2 separate regions of the Homo sapiens genome follow, and region 1 is linked to region 2. Evidence: promoter capture Hi-C in 16 types of primary human blood cells and fetal thymus (Javierre and others, 2016). All regions are on one chromosome and are shown on one strand. The core of a region is centred on a gene start or on the middle of the fragment in contact, and the rest is flanking DNA. Distances in the headings are between cores, read along the strand shown.

Evidence for each region. Contacts are between HindIII fragments. The CHiCAGO score rates a contact against its expected background, and 5 or more counts as called.
Region 1: a fragment that was not itself captured here is called in contact with the fragment with the promoter of CTNNBIP1-AS1 in region 2 in 3 of 17 cell types (M2 macrophages, total CD8 T cells and total B cells); the score reaches 5.7 in M2 macrophages.

Annotation. Positions count from the first base shown.
Region 1 is chr1:9,776,857-9,783,045 of GRCh38, forward strand. The region is part of intron 1 of CLSTN1 (calsyntenin 1); the gene reads right to left. It also overlaps the pseudogene MZT1P1. Among named protein-coding and RNA genes, the nearest start is that of CLSTN1, 44 kb to the right of the region's middle. The HindIII fragment of the contact is 1,393 bases long and covers 2,916-4,308 here.
Region 2 is chr1:9,844,736-9,851,574 of GRCh38, forward strand. CTNNBIP1-AS1 (CTNNBIP1 antisense RNA 1) reads left to right here and starts at 3,583. Exons shown (of 3, transcript NR_199045.1): 1 at 3,583-3,731; 2 at 4,634-4,739; 3 at 5,251-5,419. CTNNBIP1 (catenin beta interacting protein 1) reads right to left here. Exons shown (of 6, transcript NM_020248.3): 6 at 3,541-6,041. The coding sequence ends at 5,983. LOC105376717 (a long non-coding RNA gene) reads left to right here and starts at 5,930. Exons shown (of 2, transcript XR_946952.3): 1 at 5,930-6,309. RefSeq lists enhancers at 3,582-4,083, 5,218-5,357, 5,438-5,487, 6,523-6,839. The HindIII fragment of the contact is 10,320 bases long and covers 3,258-6,839 here.

The DNA.
Region 1 (6,189 bases), core at 2,362-4,861, 68 kb before region 2:
AGCATTTATCTATCTATCTATCTATCTATCTATCTATCTATCTATCTATCAGCATTTACTACACTGAAAATTAAAACCAGTCCAGGAGCAGTGTCTCATGCCTGTAATCCCAGCGTGTTGGGAGGCTGGCCACACAGATCACTTGAGGTCAGGAGTTTGAGACCAGCCTGGCCAACATGGTGAAACCCTCCTGTCTTTACTAAAAATACAAAAATTAGCCGGGTGTGGTGACACGCACCTGTAGACCCAGCTTCTCGGGCGGCTGAGGCAGGAGAATTGCTTGAACCTGGGAGGTGCAGGTTGCAGTGAGCCAAGATTGTACCACTGCACTCCAGCCTGGGCGACAGAGCGAGACTGTCTCAAAAAAAAAAAAAAAAAAAAGCCTGGGAGTGGTGGCTCAAGCCTGTGATCCTGGCACTTTGGGAGGCCAAGGCAGGCGGATCACTTGAAGTCAGGAGTTCAAGGCCAGCCTGACCAATATGGTAAAATCCTCCTGTCTTTACTATAAATACAAAAATTAGCTGGGCGTGGTGGCACACACCTGTAGTCCCAGCTACTCAGGAGGCTGAGGCAGGAGAATCACTTGAAACCGGGAGGTAAAGGTTGCAGTGAGCCAAGATCTCGCCACTGCACTCCAGCCTGGACAACAGAGCGAGACTATGTCTCAAAAAACAACGACGACAACAAAAAAGATAATTTTAATACTTATTAACTCATTTAAAAAACAAACACATTATATAATACATTCACATAAACAATATTTTTATGAAAATAACTTTTTGAAAACAAAGCTTACTAAGAAGAGTGGCAACAGTTTTGTTTTTGCAAATCTTTGTTGTCCACCTTCACAGAAGACACCTGAGTTCTCGTCTCTACCCCCGCTCCCCCTGCACTCAGCCTGCTGCCTTGCTCCCCTTAACATAGTCTCTAGAAAATGCCACAGTGCAGCCTAAGAGGATGAGAAAACGGCAAATAATGTCTTAATATTGTTACAGTTCTGCCCTCTCGCATCCTGCCAGGGTTTCAGGGACTCAGTATCTCACTCGGGCTCTGTTGAAAAGGTCCTTCCTGCTGCTCTCACCAACCTCGCTCTGTCCCTCTGTTCCAACACCTGGGGAGAAGACGGCAGGGGAGGGCACTGGAGCCCAGTGCCCAAAGGCCTGGGTGGGACCTGCCTGGGCTCCAAAGGGCCCGCGACCTCAGGGCCTTCGCTTCCTCATCTAGAAAATGGGGACAATAATAGTCCCCATCTCATAGGTCGTTGTGTGATTAAACATGCAATCACAGTTCATTACATATAAAATGTTCAGAAGAGTGTCTGGCACTCAGTAAGTATCAAAAGGTGGTGGTGTTATTTCTCCTCCCCAACACACACACACACACACACACACACACACACACACACACACACACGCAGACTGTGAGAAAGTGGCCTTTTCATTCTCTAATTCCCAGTACCTGGAATTATGCTTAGCACACATGCAGGAACTATTTGGGAAATGAGTATATAAGAAACCTCAAATGCGCAAATCAGATCAGTTGCCCTGATTTATGAATTCTCTCATGGAGAAGATAGCTTTGGAGCTGGGAATTCAAAAGATACTGCGAAGGTGTTTTTTTTTATTTTTGTTTGTTTCTCCAGGTGGATGTTCTGAGCAAGAGAGCTAGAAAATCTAGAGACAACGCACGAAACCAACAGGTCAAAAGACATCAGTCTGGAAAAGGTTAAGTTATGGAAGGTTAGATTACAGAGGGACTTAATATGAAATCAAACCCAGACCATAAAGACCAAAAATAAAAGTGTCTTTGAAATCCGTCTTCTCCCCCCGTCCATAGGCTGCTCTGAAACAAGAGACTGGCTAAGAAGAGAATAAGGGGCCGGATGCGGTGGCTCACGCCTGTAATCTTAGCACTTTGGGAGGCCAAGGCGGGTGGATCACCTGAGGTCAGGAGTTCGAGACCAGCCTGGCCAACATGGTAAAACCCCGTCTGTACTAAAAAAAAAAAATTACAAAAATTAGCCGGGCGTGGTGGCAGGCAACTGTAATACCAGCTACTCAGGAGGCTGAGGCAGGAGAATCGCTTGAACCCAGGAGGCAGAGGTTGCAGTGTGCCAAGACCGTGCCATTGCACTCCAGCCTGGGAGAGAAGCGAGAGACTTCGTCTCAAAAAAAAAAAAAAAGAAGAAGAAGAAGAAGAAGGCTGGCTATGGTACGGCACCTTTCTCCTGCGAGCCTCCCTGGAGCAGCAGGGGGTCTGCCGGCAGGAGGTATGTGTGAGGCTGTCTGTGGGAGCTTTACGCACAGACTGCACCAGCATCAGGTCTGAAACGGCTCTCTGAGAGAATAACTTGACTTTGCAATCAGGTTGAACACTTTATCTAACCACTGAAACTCAACATCCTCTCCAGATTATCTTTTTAAAAAAATTTTTAGGACGGGTGCAGTGGCTCATGCCTGTAATCCCAGCACCTTGGGAGGTCAAGGCAGGCCAATTACCTAAGGTGAGGAGCTCAAGACCAGCCTGGCCAACATAGTGAAACTCCGTCTCTACCAAAAATACAAAAATTAGCCAGGCGTAATCCCAGCTACTCAGGAGGCTGAGGCAGGAGAATCGCTTGAACCCGGGAGGTGGAGGTTGCAGTGAGCCAAGATCGCACCACTCCAACATGGAGAAACCATGGAGTTTGACTCCAGCCTGGGCGACAAGAGTGAAACTCTGTCTCAAAAAACAAAAAAAAAAGTTTTTTTAGTTGAGATGAAGTCTTGCTATGTTGCCCACGCTGGTGTCAAACTCCTGAGCTCAAGCAATTCTCCCACCATGGCCTCCCAAAGTGCTGGGATTACAAGTGTGAGCTACAACATCCAGCTCAGGTATCTATGAAAATAAACCATGCTATGATGTAGGCTGGAAGAAGCTTAGAGTTACAGATGTAAGATAGGCCATTTTAAAGAAAGGACTCCAAAAACTCCATTGTTTGTTACCAATCTTTCACTTTCTTTTTTTTTTTGAGATGGAGTCTCACTCTGTGGTCCAGGCTGAAGTGCAATGAATGGTGCAATCTGGGCTCACTGCAACCTTTGCCTCTCAGGTTCAAGTGATTCTCCTGCCTCAGCCTCCTGAGTAGCTGGAATTACAGACGTGCATCACCACACTCGGCTAATTTTTTTGTATTTTAAGTAGAGATGGGGTTTCACCATGTTGGCCAGGCTGGTCTCGAACTTCAGACCTCAGGTGATCTGCCTGCATTGGCCTCCCAAAGTGCCAGGATTACAGGCATGAGCCACGGCATCCGGCCTCCAATCTTTCATTTTAAAGCAAAAATTGCTAGTTCAATTTGCCACTAATCAAATTAATATTCGATTCCAATTTGGCTTCATACTTTAAGGTTTTATTAATAAAATTACAAGCACTATAAATACTAAAACTAAATATTCTTCTAATATTTGAGTCCATAAAACTCCTGAGACTTAAACTAAATGAATTTATGTCTTTATTTAGCCCAACGGGGATGTAAAAATACCAGGCAGAGCACATTACAGAAAACCCATGATGAGTAGTAACGTAAAATGTGTGTTTCTGCTGCCCAAATGGAAAGGCCTGCAGCTGAAATGGTTAAGGGTTCGGTGGAAAAATAACTGTGTAACTATGTTCCCAGTATTCCAATTTTATAATTCAAATTTTCTAAATCGCTCTTAAGCTGGCAGTAGAATGAGATCTGGCCAGTTCCAAACACTGAACTTTTAAATATTTAATGAGTGATATTTTTAATATTTCATCACATTCAATTTGCATCATAAAACATTTACAGAAACAAGTGACCGATGTTTCTGTCATCATCACAAAAAAATGGCAAAGACAAGAGACTACTGGCTGCAAGTCTAGGAACGTGTCACCTATGTCGGAAGTCTATACCTGACTCATTTCATCACATTCTAGGAGGTTTTAAAAAACAAACTAAACTGCTTCTCCTGCCTCCCTTGGCCTCAGCCATGGCGAGTAGCCGTGGCAGCGAATCCAAATGCGGTGCGGGAGACCATGGACAGGATGCTGAATAAACTGTGTGTTGTGCACCTGCATCTTGACTTTGATCCATCACATGAGGTGTGGAATTTTCCACTGTGGTGTCATGTCGGTGCTTAAAAAGTTTCGGATTTTGGAGCATTTCACATTTCAGGTTTTGGGATTAAGAGTATCCAACCTGTACTAATCACACATTCTGCTTGAGATTTCAAGAATTTAGAATGCTGGCTTAGATATGGAAACTCCTATTTGTGTACGGCTTTGTGAACAAGAAATTAACCCAGAAGCTTTATCATCAGTTATTAAGGAGCTTCGCAAGGCTACTGAAGCACTAAAGGCTGCTGAAAATATGACAAGCTGATTTTCTGGGGAAATTCTGATGAGATATGTCAAGCTCTGCAAGAGGATTTAAAGATTGCACTGTAGTCGAGAATGTACAATGATACTGAATGCAGCAGTGTAGAAAAATTTTCCTTTTTAAAAGAATTATAAAACCATAGCATTATAAATCAGTGGAAAGTGGCTTACAGACAGAACTATCAGATGTGTTTACATCACATCTTATTCTTTTTTTTTTTTTTGAGGCGGAGTTTCGCTCTTGTCACCCAGGCTGGAGTGTAGTGGCGTGATCTCGGCTCACTGCAATCTCTGCCTCCCGGGTTCAAGCGATTCTCCTGCCTCAGCCTCCCAAGTAGCTGGGATTACAGGAGTGCACTACCACACCTGGATAATTTTGTATTTTTAGTAGAGATGGGGTTTCTCCATGTTGGTCAGGCTGGTCTTGAACTCCCGGCCTCAGGTGATCCGCCCAACTCGGCCTCCCAAAGTGCTGGGACTACAGGAGTGAGTCACCGCGCCCAGCTTATTCACTTTTTTTAACGGCTCTAATGCTTCCACATCGCCATGTTCATATTTATGTATTCTTTATTTATAGCTTTGATAGCTTTAATTTTCTAAGCAGTCTATCAGATGTGCACATCTGCTGTGCCTGTAGTGGAACCCATCAGTAGTAATGTGTAGTAGTTGTGACTTGTTGACATTTCCACTATAAATTTTAACTTTGAATTGTTTATGCATTATAACTGTGGATTTATATTGTATTGGGCTGAAAGCTGACACTATTTCAGCCACCATTGGTGAATTCTGATTTAGATTCATTATGTATGTCGGAATCTTGTTTTTTAAAATAAGAGCATGGAAAACATTTCTTGCAATCTGATCTTTAACAAAGAATACTTAGTTTTTTAAACAGTTTGTTGGGCAGCTAATAATGTGAACCAGGTCATTTTTGTATTGAGTAAAAATTTAAACTTCTAGAAACTTAGATTTTAAAAGTAATGACAATGCTTAGGTTAGTATTATTTGCAATTCGAATCATTTACAGCTAATGAGAATGTTTTCTTAAAGTTTTATACCCTATAAATGGAGGCCTAAAAAAATGTGTAAAATGAAACATAGCAAACATGCCAAACTCCTGTTTACTTTTCTTACATAAAAGTAATTTGAGTCCTTGACTAATAAATCTTGAATGGTTATTTAATAAGTTATTAGGTAAGTAATGTGTTTCAAAAAAAAACTAAACTTTGAATGTATTAATTTAAAACTATGCAAAAGCAAAGCTGGCAATCAAACCTTCTACAAGTGCAGGCTGTAGCTAGGCACACACCTATCATTTCAGGATATGACTCATTTTTTAGGGTTATGGTAGATTTCAGTCATTAGAAATTATTTGATTTTTAAGTCAAGATGAAAAAAATACAATAATCAACTTTAGGATTAACATGAATATAAGCTATGCTGCCCCAGCACAACCCAACTCTGTGGGCTAAAGAGAGGCTAGACCCGGGCCGGGCGTGGTGGCTCACACCTGTAATCCTAGCACTTTGGGAGGCCAAGGCAAGCAGATCACCTGAGGTCAGGAGTTCAAGACCAACCTGGCCAACATGGTAAAACCCCGCCTCTATTGAAAATACAAAAATTAGCCGGGCGTGGTGGCACACGCCTATAATCCCAGCTACCCAGGAGGCTGAGGTAGGAGAATAGCTGGAACCTGGGAGGCGGAGGCTGCAGTAAGCTGAGATCGCGCCATCGCACTCCAGCCTGGGTGACAGAGCGAGACTCCATCTCAAAAAGAAAAAGAGAGAGAGAGGCTGGACCCATGCCTAA
Region 2 (6,839 bases), core at 2,333-4,832:
ACCCCCAGGCTCTGCCGAGGTCCCTCCCTGCCTGTCCAGCCATGACAGAGTCCACCCTGAGGGGACACCCTTCTCAGCTGGCAGGTTTTGGGGAAGGCGGAGGGGCTCTGCTCCAGTGAGCCCCCGTCCCCGAGGCAAAGCGGCTCAGCAGAGGGAGAGGCTCAGGGCAGGGGCTGGGGAGCTGGAGGCAGCTCTGGCCTTGGCTTCTACAAAGGGATCATCTGGGCTCCTTCATCCTCATCAAAGAAGCATTTTCTAAGCACCTCGCAGGACCTGGGGCTGTGCTCCTCCCCACACCAAAGGCTGCTGACAAGTCCTCGCTCTGTGTGACTTTTGAGTAGAGAGGATGGGGTGGAGAGAACCCACTATGGTGACTTAACAATGACCTTATGTCCTGACCCCCCACTGGTCGCAGGTCACTCTGCTAAGCGTGTCATATGCATCATCTCATTAGTTGTCACCAACAACCTCTGGCCCTGATGCTCTTATTTTTTCCATTTTTTTCAATAAGGTTCATCATTCACCCCAAGTCACACAGCTGCCAAGTGACAGATTCAGTCCTGCCTCCAGTTGGCCTCCACAGTTCCCACTCTAAACCATGATGTCTCCCCAGCCCCCAGCTATGTGGACATAAAGATTTAGGCTGTGGGGTCAAACAGTCCTCGAAGATTTAAAGTGGAAGAGGAACTCTGGCAAAATCAGCTTAGCTTGGAGGTGAAGTGCTAGGTCCGCATGGGAGGCTTCAGACAGACCCAGGGAGCTTCGGGGCAGCCTAGGAACATACCTCGCACGTGACTGAGCATGCGCCTTCACACAGGTACCATCCAGTCAACATTAGCTGTGTTGTTAACACTGGGACACACGGCTGGGCCTGGTGGCTCACGCCTGGCCAACATGGTGAAACCCCATCTCTACTAAAAATACAAAAATTAGCTGGGTGTGGTGGTGGGTGCCTGTAATCCCAGCTACTCAGGAGGCTGAGGCAGGAGAACTGCTTGAACCGAGGAGGTGGAGGTTGCAATGAGCTGAGATCATGCCATTGCACTCCAGCCTGGGTGACAAGAGCAAGACTCTGTCTCAAAAAAAAAAAAAAAAAAAAGACCGAGACATAGGAGACACCTGTCAAAGATGTTTGTGAAGATCCACCTCCTTCCACTGGAAGCAGCATGGTCAAGACCAAGGGTCAGGCAGTGGAAACTCTCAGAGGCTCTGGGTCTGAAGTCACCTCCTCTGGGGTTGCGCAGGGCGGGGCGGGGCTCCCACAGGTGTGCAAACAGGGACGACCACCTGTTGCACACACCCCTAACCTAGGGGCTCTGGAAGAGGAGCAGGGGCAGGGTGGGTAGGGCGTGGCTCGTCCCTGCATCAAGAACGCTCATGACTTCCGTGCTGGCAGGACTGGAAGGCCCTTCTGGGAACCATCTGTGATGGGGAAGTTCCAATGTCAGGGAGAAAAGTGAAAGCAAGACACTAGTTGATATTCAAAAGGCATTTCACTGCCCTTGTCCCTTGAGAAGGACTTTCTTCAAATTAGAAAGTCCTAATAGGACTCGCCCTGCAAGTCCCCCCAAATCTCCTGAACATCAGTTGTTTCCCAGAAGATCAAGTGCTTTCAGTGGACAGTGCAGAGCGGGGAAACGTTTTCTCAGCACAGCCTCAGGTTAGTCGGTTAGTCTGGGTGCATTTTATCCTTCGGGAAATGAAAAGGGTTGGGTGGCCATGGGCAACCCAGAAGAGGGAGGGAGAGAGATAAAGACAGAGAGAGAGAGAGAGAGAAATGAACCTGCCCTGCCCAAGCAAAGGCGGCACCTGGGTGGTGTCAGGGGTCCCCTGGGGCCAGAGTTCCCCCTACCACCAATGGAAGGGATCATATTCCCTGCTAAAAAGACCCTCTTCAAAGGCTGGGGCCCGCCTGGATTCTCAGTGCTGGTATTCACCTGCAGGGACAGGGAGAAGAAGCGCTTCATTCATTCTCAACTGCCCGCCCCCCAAGGCTGGGAAACACCAAGGGCCACAGCCCTCAGCCTCCCCACCCCAGGCTCGGCCTGGCCCCCTGCTGTCTCCGGCAGCTCTGCCTCCTTCCCCGCAGGCTCAGCCTGGCCCCCTGCTGTCTCTGGCTGCAGCAGTCCCAGCGCTGCCTGTTGGGGTCATTACCCCATCCCGTACCTGGGAAGGTGACCCAGGAGGTTGCCTGCTGTGTGGGCTGACGGACCCCGAAAGACCCAAGGCTGTCCCCAGTGTTTTTCCTTTGCCTGCTGAAGTGTCCCCGACTCATTTACGTGGCCTACTTCCCATGACAGTTTAGGCAGCTTAGACAGGTTAGACAGCGCCAGGAGGACGACCCCGCTTGGCTCCGGTTTCCAAGCTCTCTGCTGGGGGCTGGGCAGGTGGGACCAGGGCCAGCCGGTCAGTCCCTTGAACTACTCAGTGGCTCAGCTTAGAAGAGCTGATTAACTACAAGGCTGACAGTGTCACTCAGAGCGCTGGGCAAGGGGTGGAATCTGCACATAATCTACCTACCACGGACCCTTGGATGTGTGTCTCTATGTAACTTCTGGTTAACACAGCAATCTCTGTCTTTCTCTCAATGACTGCAAACTCCTTTCTGGACAAGAAGTTACAGAAAGAGGCAGATCAACTTAATGTAAGGATAAGCATAGGTTACATGAACATGGTCTGGACTAACTTGTGAGGTAGTGAGCTCCCCAACTCGAGAGAGTATTCAAGCAAAGCCTGGACAAGGTCTTTTCAGAAATGTTTCAGAGGGGCTTGTGCATCTAGCTACTGCGTGGGCTGCTACAAGACCCAGTATCTCCCCCAACACAAAGACTTAATGATGTTGGTTGTGCCATTGTACTCATATTCTGTAAACTCCATAGCCTCTAGGACCCAGTGAAATTCTTTGAAAAGGAAATAGAAGCAGTGAGACTATGTAAACAGAAAAAAAAAAAAAAAGACCCAAAAATGGGATTATGAAGGGTGGAAATGAAAATTTCTAGAAAATGCTTCTGAAGCAAAAATTATTGAAGCAGAAATGATTTCAGCTTCCAAACTTGTACATACAGCTAAAAACCAATATATCTTCCACTTCTGGGATGGTGGAAGGGACAGATATTCTGTTTGGGTGTCTGTAACAAGCATTTTAAAACTGGTGCCATCACATCAGGATGTTGGGGTGCCTAGGATGGCGGGGTCCCCACATCCTTACGGAGTGCTTAGTGTCTTTTCATAGGTGTGGAAGACGAGGTTGCCTCTGAAGCTTACTGATCTCAGTTGAATCTGGAATGATGTTTAGAATCTCCAGGTCAAAAAGAAGGTTCAACCTTCTTAACGACCCTTGAGCTGGGCTGGGTAGATCTAGAAATTCTTCCAAACCCTGAGCTCAACTCAGGTCACAGACACTTATCAAACTTGGTGTTGTCCTTCCTGGCTGCGCCTCCCTGGGAAGGAGGGGCCCCCGCAGCAGCAGAGCCCACGTGATGTGGGGAAATCAGTCAGAGCGCCTGATTCCGAGGGAGAAACCAGCTCAGCTCACACACGAACCTATGAAAATTCTTTATTGTTAATTTCTTTCTCCAACAGATATATTTTTAGTTGAAATATGGAGCCACAGCAACACTTTGACTTTTCCTCTTCAGAAGATGAGACAGGCCGGGGTCATCATTGTTACAAAAGCAAGGCCTGTGATCGTGACAAGGACAGGCTGGGGCAGAGACCACACACTCAACCAGGTATCCACCAGGTGTGGGCCCTTTATAGGAGCTACAAAGAGGGGGCAGCCAGCAATGTGGCCTCGACACCTGACTCCAGGCACTCCGACCTGGAGGAGGGAGATGAAAGAACTCACCTTTCCCCAGGGGCTCAGCCAGACCTCCAGGCCCCTGAGCGGGGAGAGTGCGTGTGTGTGCACATGTGTATGAGTGTGCACACGGGTGTGCTCACTCACACAGCACATGCACACATGCGCTGCCCCTCCTGAGATGCTCTCAGGTCCCTGCCAGGGTAGGGTTGTAGCTGTGTTCCCCACAGCTGACTGTCAGCTAACCAGGGCTAGGGGTGAGTGCATGGTGGAGGACACAGGGTCTTAGCCTGATGCTCGAATCCTCCTTCTGGAACAGGCTGATGGTGCCAGAGCACAGCACGAACCACCTACCCACCATGGGGCTCTCCAGGGCTCGGTCATTTGGCTCCTGTGCACTTCATGACACTCAGGAGCCCCTACGGCCCGAGCCCCAAGCCCCGAGAAAGGGGAAAGATTTGGTTCTGAGAGGGTCCCACTGGCCCTGGGCACCTAGGGGCCTCAGCATCTACCAGCATAGGGGAGGGTGGCGGCCCCCTTCCTGAGGACTGCATCTTTCTCCAGCCGCTCTCCCCAGATCCCACACCTGCCAGTGAGCCAGGGAGATAGGAGGACCACCTCCCTCCCAGGGAAGGGGGTGGCAGGTGGAAGGACTTAGGTTTGGTGCAGGAACACTAGACCTGCCCCTCACCCCCTGCCTCCAGGACTGCCATTCTGAACTGCAATTCTGGGCCTGAGTTTGGCTTAAGGGCCAGTCTGAAGGGACTTGCTTGGTGAAGGCCCAGCCAGCTGTCCCAGTGGCATTTCATAAACAAACGATACTGTCCCTTCCAGGCTGACCTGGAGAGAGACCCTTCCAAAGGCAGTGGAGTGGAGGGCATGGGCCTCCGATGAGAGAACTCCAGAGCTGGCCGGGACCTACTGTGCTGGCAGCAGACAGGTAGGAGCCTGGCTGGGGTAGGTCAGGGGTTGGTGTTTAGCTGGAGGTCTCCTGGGCCTTGTGAGCCAAGCTGGGGCTTTTATGTGGGTTCTGGGCTCCCAGAGACCTCCGCCAGATGACCTCCAGAGTCTTTGGGGTCTCACACTGGGAGAAGCTCCTCCCCTTTCCAAGATGACCCCCAAAATGAGGCCTCAGGAAGTGGTACACAGAAGGATGGCCAAGAGGACAGAGCTGGGTAGTACGCCTCTGCTGGGCGCGGCCTGGCCGGTGGGGCCTGGACGGTGCCTCAGCAATCCCTTTCTCACCAAGGGACGCTGGCTGGTTGCCAGCTCATGCAGGCAGTGCACATAAATCCCGCCTAACGGTTACCTCTAGGCCCTGGGCTGCTCGTTCAAGACGACACAAAGCTCCTCAGGGGCCCAACTTTCCAGCTGTGGACCCTGCTCAGGGTTCTCGGGGTCCCCTTGCTGGTGGAGGCAGGTGCACTCATTAAAGCAAATGTACTCTCCAGGTGGACCCTCAGGCCCAGAGCCGGCAGCAGAGGGGGGTGAATCCATGGCAACAGGAGTCACAGGTGAACCAATGGGAAACCAAACACACGCATCGAAAGCCAATCAAACACAAACCCCAAATGTGAAGGCAGCAGCAAGTTCTTTGTGTAATAAATATTGCAAAGCGCACTTGGTTTCTTTCTTTTCAAGTCAAATATAACGACTAATGTCCCAGACCCTGTTTTCTGCATTCAAAATAGGGAAGCTGTTGATATCAGCAGAACACCTGCAGCCAAAGAAAAAAACCGTTTCCCATTAACCAGCCAATCACAGATCCTTTCCAGTTTAAGCAGCCAATCAGACCTCTTCACATTTCTAAAAAAATGACCTAACTAAAGCACCAGAGCTCGGAGAGCTTCCAGGGAAGCCAGATACCGAGGCGCAAATTTTTTAAAAAATAAGAGTCAGAAATAAAAATAAAAGGTTTCTGTTGGTCAAGATTTAAAAAATAAAAAAGTTTCTTCCTGCAGCCAATCACAAGTCCATCCCTTTAAGCCAATTATAAACGCACCACTGGTGTCTCCCTTGATGCCAGCCCCACTGAGTAGCTGTGAGGTGGGGTGGGGCAGGGCAGGGTTGGGTAGGGGAAGGGGGAGGTGGGGCAAGGGGGGCTGCTGCCACTCAGCCGGCCCAGGAGCCACACAGATCTCTTGGCCCTCAACAGCATCCAGGGTGTTCCAAGGGCTTTGCAGCTACTGCCTCCGGTCTTCCGTCTCCGACCTGGAAAACGCCATCACCACGTCCTCTGCACCTGCAGATAAGGCGACAAGGATCGCTGATGGGGCTTGCAGCATTGGCTTGCGAACAGGACAAGCAAGGAGGCTGCGGCCAAGCTGGAGCCCCCGCCCACCAGGATCGCGGCACTCTCTGAGGACAAAGTACTTCCGAGGAAGTCTTCCTCCCCTCTGGTCTTCCCTGCCTCCTGGCTGGGGACAAGGCTTGCAACCCTGCTGTAGGGCTGCAAGGCAGGGCTGCCAGGGTGAGGCTCAGAGGCTTGCTCAAGGCTACACAGCTGACAGGTGAGCCATGACGAGGCCCCAGGTGACCTGGAGCAGGGCTCAGCGCTGCTCACAGCCCTTGCTCCAGAGTTACCAAAGCCAGAGGCGGGGTGGCCCTTGGGAACCTCCCTCTTTCTTCTCAAGACTCGCGTCTTGATGCCTTCGGAGGGTCTGGCTCACTGTGGTTTTAAATAGCCATTCCTCTTTGCAGCAGCTTCTCCTTCACCCAAACCCAACACCTCTTCCAAGAAGTATGGCCGGGCCCACGTCCAGCCTGCTGTCCGCCTGGCTCTGACTGAGACAGATATGCCCACAATCCTTCTTTTTCTTTTTCTTTTTCCTTTTTCTTTCTTTTTTTTGTGTGTGATATGGAGTCTTGCTCTATCACCCAGGCTGGAGTATAGTGGCACAATCTCGGCTCACTGCATCCTCTGCCTCCCGGGTTCAAGCGATCCTCCTGCCTCAGCCTCCTGAGTAGCTGGGATTACAGGTGTGCATCACCACGCCCGGCTAATTTTTTTGTATTTTTAGTAGAGATGAGGTTTCACCAT